5 separate regions of the Homo sapiens genome follow, and regions 2, 3, 4 and 5 are each linked to region 1. The links are contacts of gene promoters, found by promoter capture Hi-C in human tissues and cell types (Jung and others, 2019). All regions are on one chromosome and are shown on one strand. Each heading gives the region's core, a stretch centred on a gene start or on the middle of the fragment in contact. The rest is flanking DNA. Distances are from core to core; before and after follow the strand shown.

Evidence for each region. Contacts are between HindIII fragments. The study calls those that stand out against the background at their distance.
Region 2: a fragment that was not itself captured here is called in contact with the fragment with the promoter of HIP1R in region 1 in 1 of the 25 tissues and cell types used here (dorsolateral prefrontal cortex).
Region 3: a contact is called between a fragment that was not itself captured here and the fragment with the promoter of HIP1R in region 1, in 1 of the 25 tissues and cell types used here (spleen).
Region 4: a contact is called between the fragment with the promoter of ZCCHC8 here and the fragment with the promoter of HIP1R in region 1, in 1 of the 25 tissues and cell types used here (dorsolateral prefrontal cortex).
Region 5: a fragment that was not itself captured here is called in contact with the fragment with the promoter of HIP1R in region 1 in 1 of the 25 tissues and cell types used here (heart left ventricle).

The regions. Positions count from the first base shown.
Region 1 is chr12:122,832,143-122,837,962 of GRCh38, reverse strand. HIP1R (huntingtin interacting protein 1 related) reads right to left here and starts at 2,506. Exons shown (of 32, transcript NM_003959.3): 1 at 2,320-2,506. The coding sequence starts at 2,412. It overlaps LOC124903040 (a long non-coding RNA gene), which reads left to right and starts at 2,730. Exons shown (of 2, transcript XR_007063501.1): 1 at 2,730-2,789; 2 at 3,125-3,408. RefSeq lists silencers at 1,995-2,194, 2,365-2,604 and an enhancer at 2,855-2,904. The HindIII fragment of the contact is 9,768 bases long and covers 1-5,666 here.
Region 2 is chr12:123,291,720-123,297,539 of GRCh38, reverse strand. SBNO1 (strawberry notch homolog 1) reads left to right here. Exons shown (of 32, transcript NM_001167856.3): 32 at 1,490-5,820. The coding sequence ends at 1,632. Among named protein-coding and RNA genes, the nearest start is that of CDK2AP1, 23 kb to the right of the region's middle. The HindIII fragment of the contact is 4,586 bases long and covers 1,333-5,820 here.
Region 3 is chr12:123,182,901-123,188,720 of GRCh38, reverse strand. All of the region lies in intron 13 of MPHOSPH9 (M-phase phosphoprotein 9), which reads left to right. Among named protein-coding and RNA genes, the nearest start is that of PITPNM2, 35 kb to the right of the region's middle. The HindIII fragment of the contact is 5,791 bases long and covers 52-5,820 here.
Region 4 is chr12:122,497,951-122,503,770 of GRCh38, reverse strand. It overlaps ZCCHC8 (zinc finger CCHC-type containing 8), which reads left to right and starts at 2,839. Exons shown (of 14, transcript NM_017612.5): 1 at 2,839-3,129; 2 at 4,902-4,944. The coding sequence starts at 2,931. RSRC2 (arginine and serine rich coiled-coil 2) reads left to right here. Exons shown (of 10, transcript NM_023012.6): 10 at 1-317. RefSeq lists enhancers at 1,794-2,485, 2,421-2,600, 2,651-2,710, 2,911-2,990, 2,486-3,179 and 1 more and a silencer at 3,131-3,280. The HindIII fragment of the contact is 12,081 bases long and covers 1-5,820 here.
Region 5 is chr12:123,106,739-123,112,558 of GRCh38, reverse strand. It overlaps PITPNM2 (phosphatidylinositol transfer protein membrane associated 2), which reads left to right. Exons shown (of 26, transcript NM_020845.3): 2 at 2,071-2,174. Among named protein-coding and RNA genes, the nearest start is that of PITPNM2-AS1, 28 kb to the right of the region's middle. RefSeq lists enhancers at 4,636-5,376, 5,215-5,424. The HindIII fragment of the contact is 5,617 bases long and covers 1-5,404 here.

The sequences.
Region 1 (5,820 bases), core at 1,257-3,756:
CCTGGACTGCATGTGCTATTTTCTGTCCCGAAGGAGACATGGAAGTAACAACCTCAGCTCTCCAGGTCCTTTTCCACCACGGGACCTGGCTGGCGGCTCACCTGATTATTTCTGGGAACGATCTAATTAAATATTAACCACGTACAAAACCTCATTCTTACATTCCTCAATAAGTCACTGTGAAGACGAGCAAACCCAGACAATGAACTCAAACTCCAACTTTCCAGAAAATGGGGCCCTAGAATAGGTAAGACCTGTGACATTCACCCATTACAAAGTTATTCATTGTTAGTGGCCCTCTTAGCCTCTGAGAAAAAACCAGAGCAAAACAAAACAAAACAATCCACCTTCGGAGAGGTGCCTGTAATCCCAACATCTCGGGAGGCCGAGGTGAGGCGGGTGGATCGCCTGAGGTCAGGAGTTCGAGACCAGCCTGTCCAACATGGTGAAACACCTTCTCTACTGCAAACACAAAAATTAGCCAGGTGTGGTGGCGCACGCTTGTAGTCCCAGCCACTTGGGAGGCTGAGGCAGGAGAATCACTTGAACCCGGGAGGCGGAGGTTGCAGCGAGCTGAGATCATGCCATTGCACTCCAGCCTGGGCAACGAGAGAGACTCTGTCTTTAAAAAAAAAAAAAAAAAATCCACCTTCTTGTGTATCAAACCAACCACTAAAATGTGTGGTCCTGTATCAGAGATTCTCTCTTTGACACTCAGGAAGGTTGCCCTTGACTTCTTATCATTTAAGAGTAAGATCAATGAAGTTGGTCCTTCACATCCCATCTCCTCCATGTAGCAATCAGACCTCTTTATACGTCCTCAAAGGCACGAGAAAAAACTCAGTGAATAAACAAAGTTTCTGACAACATCCAGATATGTCTGCCAATTCAGGTTTTCTCCCTATGATCTACAAGTTCTTGGCACAATTAATTATGTATTGGTGACTTTAAATTTTTTTAAAATGACGGGCTATCCGGGCTGAACCAGTTGATGGTGATGAAGATCACAAGGCTAAATTGGTAATTTGCAGCCACCTGGGTTCCAGCACTTCGCATTTCTAAAGCCTTGATATCCTCAGGATTTATTATCGCTTTCTGGGTCAATCCCAAGCACAAAGGTTAGAAGGTCTCCCTGCGTTCTCTCTCATTTCAAAACGAAAGCTGTTGTAGAGTGCGTGTGCTAACTAGATGTGAAGGCAACCGCAGAAGTCATAGCTCTCTGCAAGGACAAGTGGGACGGAACTTGCAAATAGCCGCCACAAACGCAAATGTCACCAACCTGCTTTAGACAGGAGTGGGAGGGGTCCTCTGGCTTCCTTTATCTCTAGAGTAAAATTTTTCAGCCATTTCAGTCTTGGTTGACTTATTTTGGCAAATAAACAAGTATGCCCCCCTCCACCGCCCATCCCCCAAGCCTGAGAGCACTTCAAGAGTTTGTAAAATAAAAAGCAACAGGAAACCAGAAACGCAGCAACGTCTGCATCGTGGGTCCCCGGCACAAACACAAGTACAAAACGCACACCCGCGCCCTTATTTCATTTCTAACGCCTTCCCAGGATAGGCATCATCTGGAAGAGTTACAAGCGTGGGAGGCGCAGGAAGGGAGCCCCAGGAAGTTTCTGTCTGTCGGGCGCCGGTATTTAATGAGGGGGTGTGCACCTATTTATACGTGGGCAGCGCTCGGGCAAACAAGTCTGGCGACATACGAGAAGCTTTTCACCCAGCAAATAATAGGAGACTGTGCAGCCCTGGGAAACCGCTCACGAGAGAAGGAAGCTGGGAGTTTAAGGAATTTCCTTTAAGGAAATTGCCCGTGGGGGCATCGGTTTCAGGGGGTAGGAGACGGGGGCAGGAGCCGGCAAGGAGCGGCACGGAAGGTCGGGGACCCCAGTCGGGCCGCGCCGGCCCCGGGAGCACCTGGATCCCCAGCCCCCTCGACCCCCGGCGCGCTGGGCTCGCGCACACCCAACCCCGGCCCCATCTCCGTCCCCCGCCGCCTCAGCTCCGGCGCTCCCGGCCCGCGCACACCCTGACCCCGGCCCCCTCAGCCCCGGCGCCTCTGGGCCCGAGCGCCCGGCGGGAGCGGGGAGCGCGGCTTCCGGTTCACCTGCGCGCCGGTCGGCTCGGGCCGCGGAGGCCGGCGGGGGGCGGCAGCGGAGCTCTCGGAGAGCCCGGGCGGACACAGGCCCTGCCCCCGCGCCGTCCCCCGCCCCTGGCCGGCGCCTCCCGGGCCCCAGCCGTTCGCGCGTGAGGGGTCAGGGACGCCGCTTGCCCGCCCGCCCGCCGCCGCCCGCCGCCCGCCGCCCGCCGCCCGCTCGCCTGGGTCTTGTCGAACTGCTCGCGCTCGGCCTCCAGGCTGTGGCCCGGCCTGCGGCTCAGCACCCGCGCCGGCACGTTCTTGATGCTGTTCATCCTGCCGCCGCCGCCCGCTTTTGTCCGGCTCCGTCCGCGCGACTCACAGCCTCACGGTCCGGCAGCCCCAGCCTAGGCACCGCGAGGCCACCGCGCCGCGCCCGGGCCCGCCCGCCGGGGAGGAGCCCGCCTCGCCCCGCCCCCAACTCCAGGGCACGCCCCTCCCCCGCACACCTCCAAACCCGCCCCCCGCGCCCGCAAACGCCTCGCCCGCCCCCAACTCCAGGGCGCGCCCCTCCACCCGCACACCTCCAACCCCACCCCCCGCGATCTCGGGACACGCGCCTCTCCCCGCACATCCCCAACCCCCCATCCCGCGGCGACCCCGGCACACGCCCCGCCCCCCGCACACCTCCAACCCCCACCTCACTCACAAGGTTGGGGCACAGGCCAAACGCCCCCCCAGCTCCTCCCCACCTCTAATCCCCTCCCTAAACCCGGAGGGGAGGGTAGGGGAAGGGGGAGGGGGAACCCCTCCCTCCTCCTTCCACCCAGGGTAGGGACCCCAGCCAATTCCCTCTCCCCACCCCTCCTCCGAACTCACTAAGTCTTGTCTGCACCAGGGCAAGATCTGGTTAATTGGAGAAAATCTGGCCTCCATGAGTCTGGTCGGTGGCAGCACAGATAGACGCTTTTTTTCCTTTTTGGTCTTAATGTATGTGTCAAAAGGCACACAATGACACTCTCCCCTCTTTGTGCAATTCTGACATAGCTGCAGCTGTTATCCATGCGGGGATGCAGGATGCATTTCCAGAGACGCCGCCGGCTCCGCAACCGGACACCTCGCCAGCTCCAGGGACAATGGGGGCTGAGGCCGGGCGCTGTTAGGCTGGCACAGAAGGCAGGCGGATCTGAACAGCAAAGTACACCGAGGAGATGCCGCCAGGGGTGGCGTGAGGCTTTTTAAAAACATTATTATTGGCTTTCCCTTAAAATTACTGGTCACAAGACTGAAGTAAAAAAATAAATAAAAGCCCAGAGTCCTCTCTAAGCGTAGCTCTCAGATGGGTATTGTGTTTCTGCTGTTTCCCTTTCCTATCGGAATGCAGATGTGGAATCATGCATAAAGGTCCCTTGCTTTTGAAGGGAGAGGCACCGCCTGCCTGTAAGGAGGAAAATGACGCCCACGTAATCCTGACCCTTGTCTCCCTAGTGAGACTGTAACCTGTCTGAGGTCAGAGACCCTTTCCTTTCCTTTCCTTTCCTTTCCTTTCCCTTTCCCTTTCCTTTCCTTCCTCCTTCTTTTCTTTCTTTTCTCTCTTTCTCTCTCTTCTTTCTTTCTCTTTCTTTCTTTCTTTTCTTTTCTTCTCTTTCTTTCTTTTCTTTTTTTTTAACCGAGCTTCACTCTTGTTGCCTAGGCTGGAGTGCAATGGCACAATCTCACCTCACCGCAACCTCCGCCTCCTGGGTTCAAGCAATTCTCCTGCCTCAGCCTCCCAAATAGCTGGAATTACAGGCATGTGCCACCACGCCTGGCTAATTTTGTATTTTTAGTAGAGACAGAGTTTCTCCGTGTTGGTCAGGCTGGTCTCGAACTCCCGACCTCAGGTGATCCGCCCGCCTCGGCCTCCCAAAGTGTTGGGATTACAGGCGTGAGCCACCACACCCCGCCAGGGACCCTTTTCTTTAACTGATTCCTCACCCTCCAGCCCAAGAGCTAGAGCTGACCCCAAAAGATAACATTTGCCAAGACTCTCCTGTCACTGCACCAAAAGGAGAAATTAATCCTGTTTTCTCTAATTCCAATCACTAAAAAGCTTCTTTATCAGAATAACGGTAGAATCACAATAGCTGATATGTACTGAATGCTTATTATTTGGCAGGCACTGGGCTAAACCCTTCATATGTAACTTAGTCAACTTAGTTGATAGCTGTGCTCTAATAAAGACCACAGTAAAGGGGCTTTTTGCGGTACTCCAGCTGTTTCTCACACTCCTTTTTCCACACGGAACAAAAGTGGTTCTCCTGTGACCCTTCACGCATATACAGCATCCCTTTTCAACCAGGCAACAGCCCCTGTAGGTCTAGCACATCTGCCACAGAGACTTCCCATTAGCAACTGGCTTTTTAAATAATCACAGAGCCTATTACTGTGCCGGGCACCAGGCTCAGCATCTGTTAAACAGTATCTCACTTATTCTTCTTTAAAGTTGTTGATGAGGCTCGGCACAGTGGCTCACGCCTGTATTCCGAGCACTTTGGGAGGCTGAGGCAGGTGGATCACTTGAGCTCAGGAGTTCGAAACCATTCTGGGCAACATGGTGAAACCCCATCTCTACCAAAAAATACGAAAAACTTAGCTGGCCGTGATGGCGTGCCTGTAGTCCCAGCTACCCAGGAGGCTGAGGTGGGAGGATCACTTAGGCCTGCAAGGCAGAGGTTGCAGTAAGCTGAGATCATGCCACTGCACTCCAGCCTAGACAACAGAGTGAAACCTTCTCTCAAAATAAATAAATAAAAAATAAAGCATCAACAACTTTATTTTTATTTATTTATTTTTTTTGAGACAGGGTCTGGCTTCGTTACCCAGGCCGGAATGCAGTGGCATAATCATAGCTCACTGCAATTTCTGCCTCCTGGGCTCAAGTGATCCTCCCACCTCAGCCTTCTAAGTAGCTGGAACTGGAGGGATGCACTATCATGCCCAGCTAATTTTTTTTTTTTTTTGAGATGGAGTCTCACTCTGCCACCAGGCTGGAGTGCAGTGGCACGATCTTGGCTCACTGCAACCTCTGCCTCCCGGGTTCAAGCAATTCTCCTGCCTCAGCCTCCCAAGTAGCTGGGACTACAGGCGCCCGCCACCACGCCCAGCTAATTTTTGTATTTTTAGTAGAGACAGAGTTTCACCATGTTGGCCAGGATGGTCTCGATCTCTTGACCTCGTGATCTACCCACCTCGGCTTCCCAAAGTCCTGGGATTACAGGCATGAGCCACTGCGCCTGGCCATGCCCAGCTAATTTTTAAAGTTTTTTTGTAGAGACAGAGTCTTGCTAAGTTGTCCAGGCTGGTCTCAAATTCCCGGGCTCAAGTGAATTCGCCCACCTTGAAAGTACTGGGATTACAGGCCGAAGCCACTGCACCTGGCCTCTTGATGGTATTTTTTACAGACCAACAAACAAGCTCAGGTTCAGAGAGTTTAGCCCAGGTTCACACAACTGGTAAACGCTGCATTCGGGATCCAGACCCAGATGTGCCTGATTTCAAGGCCAGTGCCCGCAACACCCATGCCATTTGGACTACATTTTGTGGTCTATGACTTTCAGTACTATACTACCTCAGGCTTGCTGTTTAGGACCTGAGAGCACTCTCCTAACACATCTCTAAGGGATTGTACTTTATGTGCTTGTAGGTAAGATTTTGAGCTATTAGAGGGCCACCCTGTATTACTCAGTTTTATGTACTCAGTG
Region 2 (5,820 bases), core at 2,376-4,875, 460 kb before region 1:
TCCAGGAAGCAGGGCAGCAACTGGACTCTGTTTGCTTATCTTGGTTTCGCTTACAGCAGCCTTCCTCTACCACGGATTGCATATCGGGAGTTCATGGGCCAAAGTCAGTCTATGGAATTTTTTTTTTTTTTTTTTTTTTGGACACCAGTATTTTGGGATGTTGTAGGTTTTCATTTGAATTAATGAATTTTTTTTTTTTTTTTTTTTTTTGAGACTGAGTCTCACTGTGTCGCCCAGGCTGGAGTGCAGTGGCGTGCTCCCGGCTCACTGCAACCTCCGCCTCCCGAGTAGCTGGGATTACAGGCATGCACCACCACACCTGGCTAATTTTTATATTTTTTTAGTGGAGATGGGTTTTCACCATGTTGGCCAGGCTAGTCTCAAACTCCTGACCTCAAGTGATCCGCCCACCTCAGCTTCCCAAAGTGCTGGGATTATAGGCGTGAGCCACCGAGCCCAGCCTCATTTGAATTAATTGCCAACATTTAAAAATCAAGAGGTTTCATATAAAAGTCTAGATTTCCAGTTTCAAAAGCAGCCCATCAGCTGGGCATGGTAGTTCACCTTGTAATCCCAGCATTTTGGGAGGCTGAGGCAGGAGGATTGCTGGAGTCCAGGAGTTTGAGACCAGCCTAGGCAACACAGTGAGACCTTGTCTCTATTTAAAAAAAAAACAAATAGGGCCGGGCACGGTGGCTCACACCTATAATCCCAGCACTTTGGGAGGCCGAGGCAGGTGGATCATGAAGTCAAGAGATCGAGATCATCCTGGCCAACATCGTGAAACCCTGTCTCTACTAAAAATACAAAAATTAACCAGGCGTGGTGGCAGGTGCCTGTAGTCTCAGCTACTTGGGAGGCTGAGGCAGGAGAATCACTTCAACCCGGGAGGCGGAGGTTGCAATGAGCCAAGATTGTGCCACTGCACTCCAGCCTGGCGACAGAGCAATACTCCATCTCAGAAAAAAAAAACAAAAAAAAAAACACATATATATATGCATGCAATTTATCTGGAACATTGAGCCTTCAATCCTACATGCAGGACTTAAAGTTCCCTTAACCAGCACCCAGAGAGTATCCTTTCCAGTTTGCTAGTATCTGCTCTTCTAAGTTAACCTGTTTCGGTTAGCATTTGAATTTGCAACTTCTGTTCTGTAGTCTTTTGGTGCATTAAAAGATAATACATAGAATAATAGATATTCTTAACCTCCTGTTAAAAAGAGAATAATAGATATTCTTGACTTCCTATTCCTCCAACAAGATAGCATTACACTAAACACATGCATATGCTTGGGTATTTGTGGGAAATGCTGTGGAAGAATCAGACTACATCTCAATGGCCATTTCATTTATTAGGTAGTCGTTTAATTTTTGTGTGAACTTCTTGTCCATTACGCTTAATATTATGCCTCATTTGGAATCTGCTGTGAAGCTGTACAGTGTGGTTTCTTCTGGACACAACTTGATAAATTCTTGTTACTAATTACAGGTTTGATCATTCCGGCAAATTGTGTGTCTCCTCTTGTAAATCTCCTATCAACTTCAGACCAGTCTCAACAGCTTGCGGTCCAACAGAAACAGCTATGGCAACAGCATCACCCTCAGAGCATCACCAACTTGAGCAACGCATGAAGAACAGACAGGTTTCAACATGGATGGATCTGAAATGCTGTTGAAGCATATCATTTGCATAAAAATCAGGGACAGTTTCCAAAGAATTATATATTTTTTTCAGTTGTGCTCTCTAGTTAGTTTTTTTGGGAGTAAGGACAAACCTGGAATAGATAGCAAAACTGAAAATCAGCAGTGCTGATGGTGGTACATATGTCTTTCCTTTAGCTTCTCCCCTGATAATTCCCATCTGCTTTTACTTCGGGTGAGCAGAGGGGGATGTGTGTGTGCGTGTGTGTCAGTCTGTTTGTGAGTGTGTTAAAGGCTACAGACCACAGTTGGTTTAAAATGCTTGGAACTTCCCAAACTGGCTTTACTTTATGTTTATACAGTGCTCAGGGTTAACGCAGTACATCCATGCCATTGCTGTGGGAGGTATCCCCGGATGCATGTGTTTTGAGTCTATAAATATAGAAAATATATATTGGTTTCTTTTTCCAACTTAATAGGTTTATTAAAGCATGAAATGAAAGGTTGCATATCATGCATTCAGGTTATTTTCTAATTTTTGTTCTGACAGTGCATGTCTTTGGAAGCATGCTGAAACAAGATTAACACAGGAGTCGAGTAACAGAGAGAAACATTTGTTAGATGTACAGCATTGGTTATTGCATTTTTATAGTGTTTATACCTGGGTATTGCTTCAAACCCTGCAGACCCCTCCTTCCCCTTCTCCCTGCCCTGGGTTTCTGGTCAAGGTAATGAATACATACATTTTTCTGTGATAAAACTCTTAAAAGTTAATTTTAATGTATTAATAGTATTCCTAATGTGTGCTGCAGAAATGGCTATGAGCCTCTTAAATTTACATTTGCAACTTAAAGGTAGTTTTAGAAGGAAGTACAAATTGGCTTTCATCTTGCAAACAATCGTTTTTTACTTCATTATCTTAATTTGCTTTGTCACTCATAAAAAGGAAACCATACCTGAGTTGTAGACAATGAGGAAACACTTGAGGCTTCTGCTGTGTGTTCTTTTGTTATTGTTGTTATTGTTGTTACTCAGTAACTTGAATATTGTTTAATGTGTTGTAAGACGTAGAGTTTATCTCAAGCTGTTAAAAATGGTAATGTACAAATGTGAATAGACACTTATCTATATAATATGGGTAAGTTTTGTTTCGCCTATAATAGATGTTTATAAAAACAAGTGAGGGGACAGTTGGTCTTTTTATCTTTTCTTTCTTTTTCTTTCTTTTCTTTTTTTCTTTTTTTTTTTTTTTTTTTTTTTTTTTGCTTCCACAGGTTGCACTATTGAAAAATCGAGATTGTATAAACCTGGTAAAAAGCTGCAAGATGCCAAAATCTTGTAGATGTCAAATAAAAAGTTATTATACTAACAAGAAGTGGACTCTTGTTTAGGCCCTCACTGGTGACCTTCAGAAGTAGTCTGTGACGGGGACTCAGCAGAATTTGTGTGTTGTCTCAGCATTCCAGGTAGCCTTATAGTTTGGCTTAAAACTTATCCCTAAAATGTAAGATGGCATTGAGGGAAAGGGTATAATGATAGTACTTCTGAATGTTTTTTAAGTTGAATTGTTTGTAAACTTCTTGCAGAATTGGGTGAGATGTGTGTTAAAACTGACAAACCTGGCTGAAAGCTTAGGGCGTTCATCCTCTTGTGTCTCCTTTAGCCTGAGTTTGGTTATGTCAAGCTTACCGTAAGTTTTCTTAGGATTTATTTATTCTTGGTGCCTAAAAGAATAAATTGAAAGTACTTTCTGTTCTTTGGCACATTTTGCCCAGCGGATGCAACTTCTATCCTCAGTCCAGTTCATATATCTCAGGCAGTGATCCATTTTGTATCAGCCAGTTTCCCTTGTTAGGGCCGCTAGACCCGGCTGGCAGCCAAGAGCAGCACTCTCCCCACCTTCAGCAGAACTTCTCAGCTCATGTGTGTGTTTTTAAAAGCAGTAGGCAGCTTCCATCAGCAATGGAAGTGTCCCCCACTCCAGTGGTGGAGGTGCAGTCGCTGGACCTGAGGAAGTGGGGAAGCATTACAAACCCTCCTGCAGTAAGAATGGCAGAGTTGGGAAGGATCTTCTCTCGCAGGCTGTTGGCCCAACTCCTCTTTTCTGTGTATGAGGGCATCTTAGTTTTTTATGGCGTTTTCAAAGCAGCATATGAGGATTCTTAGCATGCAGCTAAGTGACAACCCCCATGGCCTATGATGTAATGTTTGCTCTGGACTAGCCATCTTGATAAATAGGAGTGTATGTATCTTAGGTTCTTTGTAGAACAGCTATTTTTTTTTCTCATTAAAAAGGCCTCTGAAAGCCCTCTCAAAATGGACCTCACAAAGGCAACCAGTGTGAATGGATGGGAGCTGGGGTGCTGCATGCCCAGGCTGGTCATGGTGTGTGCAGCACCCAGAGAGTTGCACCCACCCCTTCTTCAGGTGGACATCCGACCTTTACACTGTGGTCTTGCAAAAATCAGCGAGTTAGTTTGGCCGCCCTGTGAAGCTTCAGCATTCAAGGTCCTCTTCTGTTAAAACCCAACTCGTAGCCGGGCGTGGTGGCTCACTCCTATAATCCCAGCACTTCGGGAGGCCAAGGCAGGTGCATCACTTGAGGCCAGGAGTTCGAGACCAGCCTGGTCCACATGGCAAAACCCCATCTGTACCAAAAAATACAAAAAATTTGCCGCTGACTTCTGTAAAATAGGTCCATTCATTGCAGGATCTAAATGCCACACCTGAATTCAGAGGCCTTGTTTAATTAACCCCATGTCCACTTTGCCTCTGCAATGCCTTTTTCTTTTTAGCAATATGGCTCTGAGCACAAAGATTTGGTTGGAAATCATGTTCGTGTTTTCAGAGTTTACAGCGTCAATTGTACTGAAAACCACTTCCAGAGTCTAAAGCAGCTCAGATGTTATCTCTGGGGGAATTAGTGTTCCCCTCATTTAGCAACCTCCATACCACAAGGTCTCTGTCTGTAGTTACTGGGATTATCCAGATACACTATCAATGATACAAATTCATAGGAGTATTAATGCATTTCTTTAAACACAACTTGATTAAGAAGCAAATATGTTAAGCAGTTTTCTTTTTCTGCTGCTAAATTACAGTTAGACACTTCAGTATCTTCTCTTTACATGTGTATATAAATTAGTAAGAACCTGCATCCAAAGCAATGTAGTGTGTGTATGTATCTATATATATTTATTCTAACTCAGCACTTCAGAAGCCTTTTTGAGTTACAACAATATTTTAGTTTGCCTCATCTGTAGAGGTAAAATTTCTATATTACCAAGCTCCAGAGGAATATGATATTTTACAGGCACAATTTTCTGGCTGTAGTCCCTGGGGCATTCATTTGCTGGCCTCCATGGGATGCTGTTAGAACAATTGTTAGCCGGCAAGAGAAGAAAGGCTACCAGGACAGCATTTATAATTGTAGAATGGGAGCCTTCTTCCCTCTCCCCTCCACTTTCATTTTAGCATGAGATAAAAAAATAGATTGGAAATGATTGTTGCATCTCACTTCATGGAAGTAGGGGCAGAAGTTCCCTCTGGATCCTTTTCTTGACAAGCAGTCAAGAGGAAGGTCCCCATACACATGTACCTGTGTGATACTTGGTAGTTTCTAAGAATGGTGCTACATAAGCGTTGCTGTTAGGCTGGGATCCTATTAATGAACGTTTGATTAGTTCAGGCCTCCCAATGGCAAAGGCAGACACCGTGGAGATGGACATTTACTGACTCCCCTTCTGTGTGGCTTCGGTCTCCCTGGCTAACACCACACCTGTGCGTACTGCGCTCGGCCCACTTTGCTGCAGAAACGTAGCAAGCGTTTCATGTCAGGGCTACAGCTGAGAGCAAAAACTGCAAAAAAAAAAAAAAATGTCTCATTGAATGCCAGTTGTCTGATACAAATGCAGTGTCTTTTAAGTGACAGAAACACACCTAAATACCTGCAACTCAAGCTCGCTAGCATTTTTTTTTTGAGTACTTGAGATAAAATCCAAAACCCACCCTCTAATTTTGTGCTGTATTTATATATATGTACATAAATGTATATATAGAGAAATGTTGAGTTCTTCTGGATTCTGAATGTAAATAATTCTTGTAAATTGGGACTCTGCCCACCTGTTTCTCCCTTTTCCCTCTTCCCTTCAGCTCTATTTATTCTTTTCTTGACTTTCC
Region 3 (5,820 bases), core at 1,698-4,197, 350 kb before region 1:
GTGCACCACCATGCCTGGCTAATTTTTTGTATTTTAGTAGAGATGGGTTTTCACAGTTTTTGCCAGGGTGGTCTCGATCTCCTGACCTCAGGTGATCCGCCCACCTCAGCCTCCCAAAGTGCTGGGATTACAGGCGTGAGCCACCGTGCCTGGCCTCTATTCTATTTTTTAAACAATTCCAAAGTCCTGCATAGGTTCAAGGGGAGGGAAAATGGATACCATCTCTTAATGGAACACAGCAAGGTTCTGCAAGAGCTTATGGGTCTGGAAATATTGCTGTGGCTGTTACTGGGAAATATAGCCTGTTATAATAGTCTCTTTCTCTGAATGCAGTGGTTGGGACATAGAATATGAGCTTTGTTATCTTTTTTAGATATTGCTAAATTGCTCTCTGAAATGGTTGTACCAGTTTATTTTCCTGCCAGTAGTGTATGATAATTCTTATTTTTCTAGATTATTTCCAGTGCTTGGTATTGTCAAGCCTTTTAATTTTTCAAGTGTGATTAAGAGGAAATGGTTATACGTATTGCATCCATCTTCTTTTGGTATTTTTATGGGATACAAGTTTTGGGTGTTTTTTGTTTGTTTGTTTTTGAGATGGAGTCTTGCTCTTGTTGTACAGGCTGGAGTGCAATGGCGCAATCTTGGTTCACTGCAACCTCTGCCTCCCGGCTTCAAGCAATCTCTTGCCTCAACCTCCTGAATAGCTGGGATTACAGGCACCCACCACCATGCCTCACTAATTCTTTTTGTATTTTTACTAGAGACAGTTTCACCATGTTGGCCAGGCTGGTCTTGAACTCCTGAACTCAGGTGATTCACCCGCCTCAGTCTACCAAAGTGTTGGGATTACAGGTGCGAGCCACGGCGCCCAGCCCAGAATTACCTCTTACGTAATATATGGTATGAGTAGGAATTGAACTTGATCCTCCCTGCCTCCAATGATTAACCAGTTGTCCCAGAATCATTTTTAAATAGATTTTCCTTCCCTTACTGACTTCTGTTGTACATTTTATTTCCTTCTCGTGTAAATCTCCTTTGAGGCTCTGAGCTGTTCCATTGGTCTGTCTCTGAATTGGAACCACATCATGTAAATTATTAGTATTTTATAACAAGTGTTGATTTTTGGTGCCATTTCCTTATCTCGTTTTTTTGCTCTTGTAAAAATTATTTTGCCTATTTCTTGGCTTTGTTTTGTTTCATACAAATATTACTGTCAGCATGCCACTCTGCTTTCGATTGGAATTGCACTGAATTTACAGATTTATTTGGAGACAGCTGAGACTTGAAATATTGATTCTTCCCATACATGAACGTGGTTTAAATCTCAAGTATTTTTCTTTTTTAAAAATTAAGGCCTTTTACATCCTTTGTTCATTTTTTTCTCGAGGTATATCATATTCTAGTATTTATGTATTTCTAAATAATGTACTGATATTGTTCGTTCGTTCTTTTTTTTTGAGACAGAGTTTCGCTTTTATTGCCCAAGCTGGAGTGCAATGGCGCAATCTTGGCTACTGCGGCCTCTGCCTCCTGGGTTCAAGTGATTCTCCTACCTCAGCCTACCAAGTAGCTGGGATTATAGGCGAGCACCACAACACCCGGCTAGTTTTTTGTATTTTTGGTAGAAACAGGGTTTCACCATGTTAGCCATGGCTGGTCTCGGACTCCTGACCTCAGGTGATCTGCCCGCCTCAGCCTCCCAAGGTGCTGGGATTACAGGCGAGAGCCACTGCGCCTGGCCTCTTTCTTTCCTTTTTGAGATGGAATCTTGTTCTGTCGCCCAGGCTGGAGTGCAGTGGCATGATCTTGGCTCACTGCAACCTCCACTTCCTGGGTTCAAACAATTCTCTTGCCTCAGCCTCCTGAGTAGCTGGGGTTACAGGCGCGTGCCACCATGCCTAGCTAATTTTTGCATTTTTAGTAGAGATGAGATTTCACCATATTGGCCAGGCTGACCTCGAAATCCTGACCTCAAGTGATCCACTTGCCTCAGCCTCATGAAAGGCTGGGATTACAGGAATGAGCCCCTGTGGCTGGCTCGATATTGTTATTTCTTAAATTTTACATATTATCTATAATTGTGGTGGGTGAAGATCTAGGTCCTAGCTGAAGATGAAGATCTAGATCCTAACTGTGATTCTGGGTGTATGTTTTCTTCAGATTTGAAGGCTTTGTTTTATTGCCTATGACATGATCAATTCTTTTCCTTTCTCTCCCCTCCCATGGCTTTCAAAGTTTCAAGCCTGCAGAAAAATTGTAAGAATGATACAATGAAAACCCTTGTATATTCTTTACCTAGATTTACCAGTTGTGAGTATCTTACAGCATTGCTTTGTCTTCATAGAGATATAAACTTTTTTCTTTTGCTGAACTATATTTGAGAGTAAATTAGACACTATGATAATTTACCCTTAAATACCTCAATAGGTATCTCTGAAGAACAGAGATATTCTCCTGTGTAATCTCTTTTTTTTTTTTTTTTTTTTTTTTGAGACGGAGTTTTGCTCTTATTGCCCAGGCTGGAGTGCAATGGCACGATCTCAGCTCACCACAACCTCCGCCTCCCGGGTTCAAGCAATGCTCCCGCCTCAGCCTCCCAAGTAGCTGAGATTACAGGCGCACACCACCCCATGCCCAGCTAATTTTTGTATTTTTAGTAGAAACGGGGTTTCACCATGTTGGTCAGGCTGGTCTCGAACTCCTGACCTCGTGATCCACCCGCCTCGGCCTCCCAAAGTGCTAAGGATTACAGGCTTGAGCCACCATGCCCGGCCTCTCCTGTGTAATCTCAATGTACTTTTCATCCTCAGGAAATTTAACATTGATATAATACTAATATGTAAATACATTCTGTCTATATTCAAATGTTGCCAGTTGTCTAAATAATATCCTTTATAGATGTATTGTTTTTTGCTTTTTAATCCAGAATCCAATCAAGGATCACACATTGCATTTATTGTTATCATTTCTTTGAGACAGGATCTCACTCTGTCACCCAGGCTGGAGTACAGTAGGCATATTCATAGCTCACTGCAGCCTCAACCTCCAGGGCTCAAGTGATCCTCTTACCTCAGCCTCTCCGACTGCTGAGACTACAGACACTACAGGCTATCACACCTGGCTAATTTTATTTTTTTGTAGAGATGCGGTCTCACTATGTTGCTCTTGCTGGTCTCCAACTCCTGAGCTCAAGCGATACTCCCACACTGGCCTCCCAAAGTGCTGGGATTACAGGCATGAGCCAATGTGCCTGGCCCACATTGCATTTAGTAATCATGTTTCTCATTCCTTTCTAATGTGGTTCTTTTTTTCTCTTTCTGGAAGTTTTTTAGGATCATCTTTTTATCCTTGGTATGCCGAAATTTTGTAACAATATTTTTTTTTTTTTTAGTTTCTAACAACTCTTTTTCTGATTGATCATTTTTAATAGCTTTCTATTCCTGTTTTGAATCTAATGTTGTTATTTCTTTGAGAATATTATGGCTTCCATTGGACTGTTTCTGTAGTTTTCATTATTCTGAGTTAAGCTTTTGTTTTCATTTGAAGTATCTTTCATATTTAATGTCTTTTTCCAAGTGTTGGTTCTTTTGCAGGCTCACATTTAAGAGGCACTAGGCTGGGTGTGGTGGCTCACGCCTATAATCTCAGTGCTTTGGGAGGCTGAGACGGGTGGATCACTTGAGGCCAGGAATTTGAGACCAGCCTGGCCAACATGGTGAAACCCTGTCTCTACTAAAACTACAAAAATTAGCTGGGTGTGATGGTGCACATCTATAATCCCAGCTACTCGGGAGGCAGAAGCATGAGAATTGCTTGAACCCAAGAAGTGGAGATTGCAGTGAGTTGAGATCACACCACTGCACACCAGCCTGGGTGACAGAGTGAGACTCTGTCTCAAAAGATAAAAATTAAATTAAATAGGCCGGGCACGGTGGCTCATGCCTGTAATCCCAGCACTTTGGGAGGCCGAGGCGGGTAGATCACAAGGTCAGGAGATGGAGACCGTCCTTGCTAACATGGTGAAACCCCGTCTCTACTAAAAATACAAAAAAATTAGCTGGGCGTGGTAGCGGATGCCTGTAGTCCCAGCTACTCAGGGGACTGAGGCAGGAGAATGGCGTGAACCCGGGAGGCGGAGCTTGCAGTGAGTAGAGATCACGCTACTGCACTCCAGCCTGGGCGACAGAGCAAGACTCCATCTCAAGAAAAAAAAAAAAAATTAAATTAAAGCGAAGCAGTATAAAAAGCTATTGAAAGACTCTTAAGTGTATGGATGGGACTTAGTTCCTGGTAGCCTTCATTTTCAGGCGATTGTAGAGTCATGCACCAGCCATTTTGTTAGGGGACCTCCAGATGTGAATGTTTAGAAGGTTTTTTTTCTGGGGTTGTTCAGTTTTCGTAAAGACAGGTCTTACAGTCTCTTGCCTGGGACCTATCAGTCAGATTCTGGCAGTGGAGGAGGGGGAGGTCACCTTTTTTCAAAAGAAAATTATTTGTTAATATATTTATTTTAGAGACAGGTCTCACCTTGTCACCGAGACTGGAGTGCAGTGGTGTGATCATAGCTCACTGCATCTTCAAACCCCTGGGCTCGAGGAATCTTCCTGCCTCAGCCTCCCCAGTAGCTGGGACTACAGGCACATGCCACCAGACCTGGCTAATTTTTAAATTTTTTGTAGAGATGGGGTCTTGCTATATTGCGCAGGCTGGTCTCCAACTCCTGGGCTCAAGTAATCTTCCTCGGCCTCTCAAAGTGCTATGATTATAGGTGTGACCTGCCCTGGGTGTTTTTGAAGTCTTTTACTTTGTCATTTTCTCTTTATCCTCTGCCTCCCACTCCACTATTATCCTTGGATTTCCAAAGTTCCATTTTTCTCCCCATTCATTTTCTCCTGCTGTCCTGCCACCTGGCTGAACAGTCTACTGCTGTATGGGATGTGTCCTGGGCTCTGATTACTTAAGGAATTTCAACCAGTTTTCTGTGGTCAGCCCTGTGCCTCAACCCTGTCCATCTCTAAACCTGGGTTTCAAGGTGGGCATCTCTCACAGTTATGCTGACATCAGCCTGCTTTTCATCAGCATTTCTGGATTCAGGCACTTGGGGTTGTATCCACTTCCACCCTGCTAAGGCACTTTTTTCCTTTTTCTTTTTTTTTTTTTTTTTTTTTTTGAGACAGAGTCTTGCTCTGTCACCTTGGCTGGGGTGCAGTGGCACCATCTCGGTTCACTGCAACCTCTGCCTTCCAAGTTCAAGCAATTTTCCTGCCTCAGCCTCCTGAGTAGCTGGGACTACAGGCACGTGCCACCACACCTGACTAATTTTTGTATTTTTAGTAGAGACGGGGTTTCGCTATGTTAGCCAGGCTGGTCTTGAACTCCTGACCTCAGATGATCCACCTGCCTCGGCCTCCCAAAGTGCTGAGATTACAGGTGTGAGCTACCACGCCCGGCCAGCACTTTGTTTCTTTTCAATTTTCTAAGACTTTATTGAAATCTCTCACCTGTTACTGTCACCTCGTTTGTTTTCTCTTTAATTTCTTCATTGTTAGTTTAGTGGACTCTGAGGGTGAAGAGAAGAAAATTCTGTTATTAATTTGTCATCTTTAACCAGAAATCTCACATATGTGTTCTTATATTTATTTATTTTTATTTTTTAAAATATTTTTGGTAGAGACGGAGTTTTACCATATTGGCCAGGCTGGTCTTGAACTCCTGACCTCAAGTGATCCACCTGCCTCAGCCTCCCAAAGTGCTGGGATTACAGGCGTCAGCTACCACGCCCGGCCTCTTATTTATTTATTTTTGAGACAAGATGTC
Region 4 (5,820 bases), core at 1,590-4,089, 330 kb after region 1:
AAACCTTTCATTTTCCCAGAGCACAGAAATTCTATGGCAAAATGGCTTTTCACCGTGTTTCAGTGACAAATCTAAGCCTTCTAAGGAAATGACACTATGGATCCTTCATTTCGTGATCATCAACATTTTTCAATTAAGCTCTGCCTTTTTAAATCAATCTTATTAAAAATGTTCATGACCTTCTAAGGCAGTGTGGACGCAAAAGCTTCCTGTGTGTCTACAGTTATTTTAGGAGCTGACCATACATGATGAGTGATACAGCCTGTACTTTGCTCATCTAGAGCAGCACTGTCCAATAAAATATGTGTGTATATGTATATTGGTCCAAGTGATCTTCCCACCTCACTCCCCTGAGTAGCTGGCACCAAAGGCCCATGACAATGTACCTGAGATGGGGTTCTCAGGCTGTTGGCCAGGCTGGTCTCCCACTCTTGGCCTCAAATGATCTGCATCATCTCAGCCTCCCAAAGTGCTACCTGGGATTCAGGTGTGAAGCCACAGTGCCTGGCCTAAGTATTTTATTTCAATTTCTTTTTTGAGTAGCCAAATGCAAATAATTAAAAGATGAAATTACAGTTGTCCCTTGAACACATGGGTTTGAACTTTAGGGTCCACTTACATGCAGAATTTTTTTTTCTTTTTTTCTTTTTTTTTTTTTTGTGAGAGACTCTTTTGCCCAGGCTGGAGTGCAGTTGCATGATCCTAGCTCACTGCAACCTTTGTCTCCTGGGTTCAAGCAATTTTCCTGCCTCAGCCTCCTGAGTAATTGGAATTACAGGCACCCGCCACCACGCCCGGCTAATTTTTGTATTTTTCGTAGAGACGGGGTTTCACTATGTCAGCTAGGCTGGTCTTGAACTCCCGGGTTACACCATGTTGGCCAGGCTGGTCTTGAACTCCTGACCTCATGATCCACCCGCCTGGGCCTCCCAAAGTGCTGGGATTACAGGCGTGAGCCACCACGCCAGGCCTCATGCAGATTTTTCAGTGAAAGTAAACCTGGGAGGCGGAGGTTGCAGTGAGCCGAGATCATGCCACTGCACTCCAGCCTGGGTGACACAGTGAGACTCTGTCTCAAAAAATAAAATTTCAAAAAAAAAAAATTTAAATGGCCAGGCACAGTGGGTCATTCCTGTAATCCCAGTATTTAGGGAGGCAGAGGCAGGAGGATAGCTTTAGCTCAGAAGTTCAAGACCTACCTGGGCAATATAGGGAGATCCTGTTGTCCACAAAAAGAAAAAAAAAATGTTAAAATGTGTAAGTGACTTCCCAATGTTGTAAACGGAAAGAGGCTTCCTTAAGGGCCTTTGAGCACTGACCTAGCAGTGTTCCAACCTCATCTTGCTCCACTCTGCCTTTTCACTCAACATGGTGGTCCTTACACCTAAGACACTCTTCCATCCTCCCACCCCCAACTTTGCCGATCCTTAAAGTCTCACTTCCTCACTTTACTGACTCCCACAGACTAGGGTGTTTGTTAAATATTCATAACTTCCTGTGTTTTTCACCTTTTTTTTTTTTTTTTTTTTTTTGAGACAGAGTCTTGCTCTGTCGCCCAAGCTGGAGTGCAGTGGCACGATTTCGGCTCACTGCAACCTCTGCCTCCCGGGTTCAAGCGATTCTCCTTCCTCAACCTCCTGAGTAGCTGGGATTACAGGCGTGTGCCACTACGCCTGGCTAATTTTTGTATTTTTAGTAGAGACAGGGTTTCTCCATGTTGGTCATGCTCGTCTTGAATTTCTGACCTCGTGATCCACCTGCCTCGGCCTCCCAAAGTGCTGGGGTTGCAGATGTGAGCCACCGCCCCCGGCCCACATTTCTTTGTGTGATCAATATCCATCAACAACCATCTCGACCCAAGAACAGGAACATTTATAATTATGGGGTTTTTGTTGCTTTTTGTGGACTACAGCCTTCGTGAGAGGAGGAATTACTCTATTGTGGTTACTCTTGTAACCATACTCAGGTCCTAGACAAGTGCCTGGCCCATCGAAGGTGTAAGTAAATAATGTGATTGAATGACAGAAAGCCTCAACAGACAAATAGTTGAGTCTAGCTAATCTTACATTAAAAACGAAGCAAGCTCAATAAACTAATCTACAACAGTCATCTCTGTAGCAAAGCTGGAGTTTCTTATTCTCTTTTATGTTTATTTTTATTCAGTTCCCTTTCAGGCTATGGAGTTCCTTATTCTCTGGTGTGGCACGCACACCAGAATCTGTGAGAAGCTATGCGTCGTGCTCTGATTTTTCACCCTTAGTTGCCTAACAGGAACATCCCATACTGGTTTTTGTTTTTCTTTTTCTTTTTGAGACAGGGTCTTGCTTTGTCTCCCAGGCTGGTGTGCAGTGGCGCCATCTGGGCTCAATGCAGCCTCGACCTCTTGGGCTCAAACCCTCCCGCCTCAGCTTGCCGAGTACTTGGGACTACAATCGCCCAGCTAATTTTTATATTTTTTTGTAGTGTCTGGGTCTCGCTCTGTTGCCCAGGGTGGTCTCCAACTCCTGGGCTCACGTGATCCTCCCACCTCTGCCTCCCGAGTAGTTGGTATTACAGGTGTGAGCCACCCCGCCCTGCCCCCAGATTGCTTTAGCGCATTCTGACCTACTCCAGCTTTCTTCACATTTCAAAAAGCACCAATCCCAGGATGCAATGCAGACAATGAGTACCAGTCGCTTAGAAACCACACGTCCCAGCATGCCGTCCTCCGGGCAATCGCAAGCCCGATAGGCCCCGCTGCATTCCGGGAGTTGTAGTCTCTAGCGACTGGCCCCGCCCCGTGTGCAGCTTTCGCGGCCTGCGTCTGGAGAAAACCCTAGCGGGTGGCTCCGTGCGGCCAGAGCTCTAGAGAGTGGTGCCGCCTTCCAACCTTCTTCCCCAAGCCCTGGTGGCCGGCTCCGCCTCTTCTCGAATCTTTTCCACAGCCCAAAATGGCCGCAGAGGTGTATTTTGGCGATCTAGAGCTCTTCGAGCCGTTCGACCACCCAGAGGAGTCGATTCCGAAGCCCGTTCACACTCGCTTCAAGGACGACGACGGCGACGAGGAGGACGAAAATGGGGTCGGCGACGCGGAGCTACGGGAGCGGCTTCGGCAGTGCGAGGAGACCATCGAGCAGCTCCGCGCCGAGAATATCCTTTCCTCTCGCTGGGCCCTGTCACCCGGGTGTGGGGCCGGGGCAGCGCCAGGCGTGGGGCCGGGGCAGCGCCGGGCGAGGGCGAGGGCGCGGGCGGAAGTTCCAGGAGGGCCAGAATTCCAAGTGCTTTCTGTCACCCGCCGGCGGACCGAGAGTCTAGGGTTCGGGGCGCGCAGGCTGCCTCGGCGCAGACCTCTTCCCCTCAGGGAGGCCGTCTCCTGACCAGACCCACTCCTGCCTCCCACCCGGGTGCCGTGTTTAGGGTTATTTTAGGCTGCTCACCTGACAGATTGTACACAAGCCCTTAATTGCCCCCCTCTGTTTGAGGTCGTGGTGAGGTTTCATATTTCGCAGCCACGCTCAAATTGTGCCGTCATGTTACAGTTGTAGGTGATGAAATACCGGCTGCTTAGACGCGGGATCGGTTTTTATACCGGGGCAAACGCTAGTGGTCCCAGAATGCAGAGTTGGGGGCCTCAAGGAATCCGGGTGTGCTGAGATAATTGGTTAATTGCTTGATTAAAATTGGGGATTAATTTTAGAGTTCTTCCACTCGGAGCTCGCTTCTGTGCTGAAGATGCTTTGCAACGCCTTGAGGAAAACGCGCCAAAGAAGTTTCTGTTAGACTTGAGTTACAAGATTGCAGATTTTTCTTGATTTGCTAGTATGTTTTTTTTTACGTTCGTAGAGTTTTATAGGTAGATAGATAACTTTGGTTCGGGTAGTTTTCCTTTTAAAATTTGTAGAGAACTGAAAGTGGCTGATATGTTAGCTTTTTTAGGGGGACGGGGTCGGGGAATGGAGTCTCAGTCTGTTGCCCAGGCTGGAGTGCAGTGGCGCGATCTCGGCTCACTGCAACCTCCGCCTCCCGGGTTCAAGCGATTCTCCTGCCTCAGCCTCCCGAATAGCTGGGATTACAGGCGCCCGCCACGGCGCCCAGTCAGTATATCAGTTTTTAAGGTTTGTGAAGCGCGATTTATTTTTTCAGAATGTCGTCTTCCTCCACATTGTGAGGAAAATTTTCAGAATACAAAAAGTTGAGGCCGGGCGCTGTGGCTCAAGCCTGTAATCCCAGCACTTTGGGAGGCCGAGGCGGGTGGATCATGAGGTCAGGAGGATCATGAGGATCAGGTGGATCATGAGGATCAGGAGGTCAGCCTGGCCAACATGGTGAAACCCCGTCTCTACTAAAAATACAAAATTAGCCGGGCGTGGTGGCGCGTGCTTGTAATCCCAGCTACTCAGGAGGCTGAGGCAGGAGAATCCCTTGAACCTGGGAGGCGGAGGTTGCAGTGAGCCAAGATCACACCATTGCACTCCAGCCTGGGCGACAGGGTGAGACTGTGTCTCAAAAAAAAAAAAAAAAAGTTGAAAGGATTCTACAGTGGACATCCATAGATTTATTCCAAATTCTAAAGTTGTTAACAGCTCGTTATACTGCATTCTCTTTATCACATAGTGGTTGTTGAAAGGTTTGACAGGAACACTGATGCTTCAATAATGGTTTTGGTTCAGTTTGTTAGTCTGTTGAACTTCAGGATCGTGTCTTAGAATATATGTTCGAAAGGATAAAAACCGTACTTTAATTTTGGGTTTCAAAAGCCTACCCCTGCAACAAAATAGAAGCTCAATAAGTGTGTCATCCTCAAAATATCCGTGGGTCTTTTGTCTTTATAATATTCTGACACCAAAAGTGAGAGAAGTAGTAGTTGAATTTTATGATTTGCATTGTTAAATGAGGGCTTATCTTCCTTAACAAATAATAACATCAAGAACTTAAACGAAAATTGAACATTCTGACTCGACCGAGGTATGAGATTTTTGAAATTACTCCATAGTTGTCCCTTATTATTTATCCTGATATTAATATTTAATCAGAATTTCGTTGTAAAAAGTGTATGGGATTTTTGTATCATTTTTATTTGTTTAGCATACTCTGAAGAAATCAAAGTAATAGTTATTTAATTGTGGGGATAAGGTCTGAATTCTCATAAGTGGATTAAAATTGTAAGCTCATTTATTGGATGAAAGGATGAAACAAAATCCAGAAAATGTTTACTTAATGTTCAGAATAGGCAAGTTGTTAACCTAGCTATTCCTATTTAACAAACATTTCTAGAAAGTTAGAATTAAGATTACAATATTGGCTGGGTCTGGTGGCTCATGCCTGTAATTCCAGCACCTAAAAAAAAAAATTATAGTATAATGGGCCAGGGGCAGTGGCTCACGCCTGTAATCCCAGCACTTTGGGAGGCCGAGGTGGGCGGATCAACTGAGGTCAGTTCGAGAGCAGCCTGGGCAACGTGGTGAAACGCTGTCTCTACTAAAATTACAAAAATAAGCTGGACGTGGTGGGCGCCTGTAATCCCAGCTACTTGGGAGGCTAAGGCAGGAAAATCCCTTGAACCCGGGAGGTAGAGGTTGCAGTGAGCTGAGAGTGACAAGAGCGAAACTCCGTCTGAAAAAAAAAAAAAAAAAGATTACAGTATTACTCTAGCTGAAGATTTATTTACATAGTTAAAATGTGTTCATAAATAGAACAATGAAAGAATCAGCATTTTAGAAGAAAAAGTAATGTGCTTTTGAAAAAGATAAAGTGTGTAGATTTGCATTTAGGCATCTGATTTTATGTTTTTGTTTTTGTTTGAGACAAGATCTCACTCTGTCACTCAGGCTGGTGTACAGT
Region 5 (5,820 bases), core at 1,347-3,846, 270 kb before region 1:
TCAAAAAAAAAAAAAAAAAAGTATATTGAAGATTTGGATTTAAAACTTAAAGGAATGAAATGACATTTGTTCCTGGGAAACAGCAACACGATGTATTATTTGGTCTTGGATGCCCTGCTCCCCTCCAGGACTGTGACTACGTGTGTATGGAACGTACATTACATGCAACAAACCCCAGCAAGGAATTGTGTTTTATTGTGACTTTCCATGTCCCCTTAGGGCAGTGGACAGATTCACTGTTTACCATTTATGTGAGGGGTCACTGGAGGAAAACTGAGTTAGCCAGCAGCACATTTTAATTTCTTTCCAGGGATGTTTTGAGCCCCCTGCCCCTAGAGGTCTGTTCCCCAAGTAGCTGCCTACTGGGTTGGCTCCTTAGCCTGACCCTGCATTCACTTTTTTCACTTTTAATACTTTTAGTCAGAAACATAATTCCCTGCAGTGCCTCTCTTTGCGTTCTGAGAGTGCTTTTTTCTCATAGCCCCTGTGGATCTAATTCTGTGGGGTGTGAGTCACCACTGCCCTTCTCACCCGCCGAGAAGCATTGTGGTGGGCTGGAGCGGGGCTGGTCTACCAAATCTGGCTCGCCATTGATGGGTGCGTTACCATGGCAAACCCTCAACCCTCTCAACAGCTTTCCTCACCTCGAACATGGGGAGACTTCAGAGTTGCTGGCCTCAACTGTGGCCTACGGTGGCATGTAGAGGCAAGGCTGGAAGGCCAGCTTGCTCATGGTCACTGGGAGGGCTGGGACCTGCATCCACTCTGCTGTGGGTGCCTGGGCTGTTTCATCTGTTCCGGGGGTTGAGTGTGTATGTGGGTGTGTACATGCAGCCGTGGAGACAAGGGGCTGGGGCAGGACAGCGATGGAGCCTCAGTCCCACAGAGGAGCCTGCACGGGGGTGGGCATGCAGGACGCGGTGGCGGTGGCGGGGTTGGAAGAGCCGCCCGCTCCCTGCAGCCACACCTCCCACTGCTGTGTATTGCTAGCTATCTTCACACCTCCCCAATTCCACTCTCCCTCCTCTGTCTGGCCGTTCACTTGGCAGTTGATAACTTTGCCATCCCCAGCCACCATTCCATTTCCCTTTGTTAGGGCTGTGCTTGCCCCTAGCGGGCATGGACTGGTGTCTGAGGAGACCCCCACCATGCCTGTCCTCAGCTCCTAAAGCAGGGTTGCCCTGGAATTGGGCATCAGTTCCTGAAACACTCCCAGCTTCCATAGCCAGCAGATAAGCAGCCTCTCTGTCATGGTCATTGGAGAGCCCTGTAGGCTGCTACCTGCTCTCTGGGCCCAGGGTCAGGAGGCTTGTATGTGTGTCAGGCAAACAAGAATGTGTGTTGAGCTGCGAGGTGGGCTACCCGGCTTGTCTGTGGTCCCTGTAGGAGCCCTGGGTTGGGTAGTGGCTTCAGTGGTACCTGTGAAGACTTTGTCATCTCTGAGGCTGTTGGACCTGCGACTCTTTGGAAATCCATTTCTCCACCTTTTTCATTTTGTTTTGAATGCTTGTCTCTGGCCTCTGGGTAGTCAGATCACACTCTGCCCAGCTGGAGGGGCTTGCTGGAAGGCTGGAAGCCATTTGCATCACCCCACAATATGACCATGCCCCTGTCCCGGCATCAGGACGCCATCCTCTCGGACTGTGTCTCCCACTCTTCTTCCTGCATTACCTCATTTTCCAGCCTCCTCTCTGCGGTCTGAAGTCCTCCAATCCCAGTGGGGTTCATGAGTGAAAAATCAAGGTTTGAGACAGAGCTCCAGGGGCCTTTGAAAATAGGATGGCTTATGGTGTGTGCTGGTGGTCTCAGTTCCCACTCCCTGAGCAGTTTTCCTAAGTAGAAGGGGTGCCGGGCAATGTTGGGGTGTATCTGTCACCAATTCTGAGTTAGACACTTGCTTCCTGAATCGTCCTGGGCTGGGTCCCTTTGTAAAATGGAGACACCTTTAGTCAGATGTCCCCTGTTCAATCCTCTTGGTCCATCGGCATTGTGGGTCTCCCAGTTGGATTGGTGTGGAGTGATCAGAGTCCAGGTGTCTCACCTCCTCTCCCATTGTGCTTCTCCCTGCAGGATGCTGGCACGTGTGTCCTGGTCCTCAACAACCTTCTGTGAGCCTAGGGACCCATTTCTCCTCCTTTGACAGGGACATCAGTGGAGCCTTCTCAGACCCACAGGTAAGGCCGTCCACCTGTGCAGTAGCACCCTACTTCCCAGAGCTGAGGCCCTGCAGGCCACCCTGGCCTTTGGAGTTTGAGGGTACGGAGACTTTATTGCTGTTTCCCTTTTCCCCTAAAAACCGGACTATTGTTGGGCGCAGTGGCTCACACCTGTAATCCCAGCACTTTGGGAGGCTAAGGCAGGAGGATCACTGGAGGCCAGGATTTCAAGACAGCCTCGGCAACATAGTGAGACTGCATATCTCTGAAAAAAAAAATTAACTGGGTGAGGTGCCACATGCCTATAGTCCCAGCTACTGGGGAGGCTGATGTAGGACGATCACTTGAGCCCAGGAGTTCGAGGCTGCAGTAAGCCATGGTCGCACTACTTCACTCCAGCCTGAGTAACACAGTGAGACCCCGTCTCTTAAAAAGACACTATAAACCTGACTTTATCTGATTAATGTGGGGTAGATTGTATTTATTGATTACGCTTTTGCAAATATTGACTTCTTTTCACTAAATACGAAAGACCGATGTTCTGCCTCTGGTAGCTTTCGATTCCAAATAGGATAAAAACTGCTTGGGTCAGCCTTTGAGGCCCCAACGGCTGCTATTCTCCTGTTTATAGAGCACCCCAGAGTGGCTCTTTTCTGTTTGCTCTTGAGGCTTAGCCTGGCCTGCTCTACCCTTAGTACATGGAAGAGGACAGGCAGGAGTTATGCTTCTTCTGTGCCTTGGCTGGGAAGCTCAGGCTCTGGCTACTCGCTGGCTTTGGCAGAGAGCAGAGGCTGGGCTGCTGCCTTGCTCAGCTGCCCGCAAGTCATGGTCAGTGGCCCAGAAACAAGCATGAGTGTGGTTTTTAATGCACCATCCCTCTGGATGTACAGTGAGAAGCCAAGGCTGAGTGGAGGGTGGGCCTGAGCCTCTGTCTTGAGTCTCAGGGAGTGCCAGGTCTAGAGATTGAATGGCCCAGGGAGTAGCAGTCTCTCCCCTCCCACCCCCAGCTGGCAGCAGGAGCCCCTGGCCTCCCAAGCTTCTTTCCATTTCGTATTTCTTTGTCTCAGGCACAATCCCTGGCCTTGGCCCCATTTTCCATGCCAAGGCCTTTGTTGGGTGGAACAGGAGGTAAAGTGATTTTTCCTTCTTTTTTTCCTAAATGTTGATGAACCCTTCTCCTGTTCACTCATTGGCTAGTTTCAGCTTTGGAGGCACGGAGGATGGATGTTCCATCAAGGGAAGCTAGCAAAGCTGAGGTGAGGATGCTGGTGGGGGTAGGTTTAATGTACCCAGCCCCTGCTGCATGGGGCTAAGTCCCACAGTAACCATGAGCAGTGCCTGTTAGGGTCCCTTTTTACACAGGAAGCCGAGGCTCAGAGATGGCAGATATCAGCTCCAGGTTGCACAGCTAGTCAGTGGTGGGATTGGGATTGGACCCCGAGTCTAGACCTGGAAGCACATGGCATGGTTTTTCAAATTTGGCCTGTGACTCACAGGGCCCTTGGTTCAGCCCAGGCTCAACTGTTACTTGCTGTCTGATCTCGGGTAAGTCCCTTCCCTTCTCCGGGTGCCCTCATCCTTGCTGGGAAGATAGGGCACGTTGTGATGGGGCCTCTTAAGTTGCCTCTGTGGCTCCGTAGTTCCAGGCTGGCACCGTGGACTGTTATCTTCTCTAATTGCTCATTCTTTTCAGTTGCTGTGAAAAGGCCTCCAAGTGCTAAGAAGAGAGAGTGCTATGTTGTATTTTTTGTTTTTCTGTTTTGTTTTAATTCACTTTCCAAGGTGTCCCAGCTACTGGGAGTGGATGTAGGGGAGGGCACATAGTAACACTCAGCCCTGACTTGCAGCTTCTCCAGGGGTCACTCGGGTTCTGCGGGGTTGGGGCCTCGTGGTTGTCCTGTTGCCAAAGGTCTTGGCTGCCAAGTCGAGGCAGGGCCCGGTGAGAGCTCTTCTGCCCTGCATGGCCTGAGCACTGACATTGCTCTGAGGGACGCTGCTTCAACACAGCCTTGGTCTCCTGTCTCCTTTCTTACAGGAAGGAGGTTCTATTCCTTCTTAACAACTGCATTCCAGAGTGCAGTGGCTTTGCAGAGACCATGGCCTTGCAGCTCACCTCATCCGAAGGTCTTCACTTAGACCTAAAATGTCTTCAGGAATTGTTCTGCTCCACTCATTTGTCCATAAAGTATTTATTGTTACTTAGTTTGCACCAGGGACCATTCCAGTTGCCAGAGACGCCACTGTGAACAAAACAGACAGGCATCCCTGCCCGCGTCTAGTTTATATGCTGGTACATTCTCTGCGCTTTGCTTATGCAGTTCCAGCATCCTGAAATTCCCTCTTCCCACCTCTACCTGTCAGGTTCCTGTTTCACCTTCCAAGCCCATTTCAAACAGCTCCTTTCCTCTAAATTTCTTTGCAAGGCCTGGGTCCGCATTAGCCTCTCCTTCCTCCCTCTGTGCTGTCACGGCATACTGCTTGGACCTCAGAATTCTTGGCATCATTTTCCCTGAAATATTTCAGTAAGTGTCTGTGTCTGCTGTTGACCTGGGAACCTTGTAATGTGGGAGACTTGCCTTTGGGTGCCATCCTTTCCCCCCAGATCCTGGACTAGAGAGCTGGTACCACCTGCTTTTCCCAAAACCCTCCCCTAGAAAATGGCAGGCCCCATGTGAGGATGATTAGGGTTGCCCCCTCCATGCCTCTGCACCCTGCTTGGGAGTTTGTGGCATAGTGACCACCGGGCCCTGGTAGCGAGAGTCATGGGGTGGAGGGAGGCCACACTCCCTGGGGTTCGCTAAGAACGAGATCTTTCCTTCTCCTCTCTCCTCCACAAGGGACTGAGGAAGGAAAGGGCTCAAGGACCAGGGTTTATTTTTAGAAAAGCTCCTTGCTGTGGAGGAATCCAGAGCCCTTCCTTCCAGAAGGTGGGGGTGGCAGGTGGTGGGTGGGGTAGCTGGGGTTGTGTCTCCTACTGCCTGGCTGTCTTTCACAGTAGGGGTCTGCCTTAAAGAGGAGGGTCCCAGCCAAGGAGAATATTTGCCCTTAGCCCTCACAGTTGAAGATGTTTGCCATTCGGCATTGGTGAGCAGAGCTTCTGGCATTGCCATGAGCTTCAGTGTCCCTTGGGCAAGAGCTCAGCGGGGAGGGTCCTGGGCCCAGGCAGTGGCTTCCTTCCGGACTCCCCGTGGCTCAGGCAGGGAGGGGCACTTCCTGCCATTGTCTCTGTGACAGGCCTCAAAAGGTCACTGTCTCCTGAGGAGAAAGAGAGCTCATGACATGGGCAGGGCCTCAGACCACAGCAGCAATGACACAGACTTTCCAGGGCACGTCCCCACCTCCCCATGCTGTACCCCCATCCCCACCTCCAGCCCCTTGGATGAAGTCCCATCCCAGGTGAAGAAGGGACTTATCTCCATCCGTAGCAGCAGCAGAGCCCTACCTGCAGCGAGGGCCTTGCTTCCTAGTCCCTCCTCTCAGGCAGCCCTAGTCCCACATGGGAATGCAGGCCTGTCCGTCCCTGTGAGGTTTAGGTCTGTGATAAGTCTCGCATGTTAGAAGGCTGCCCAGAGAGCCCAGAGCATGGGGAGGTTATGGAGAGGAAGTAGAGGGCTGAGTGCCCTCATGCCCTGGAGCAAAGATGCTGCCCTGAAGTCCACAGAGA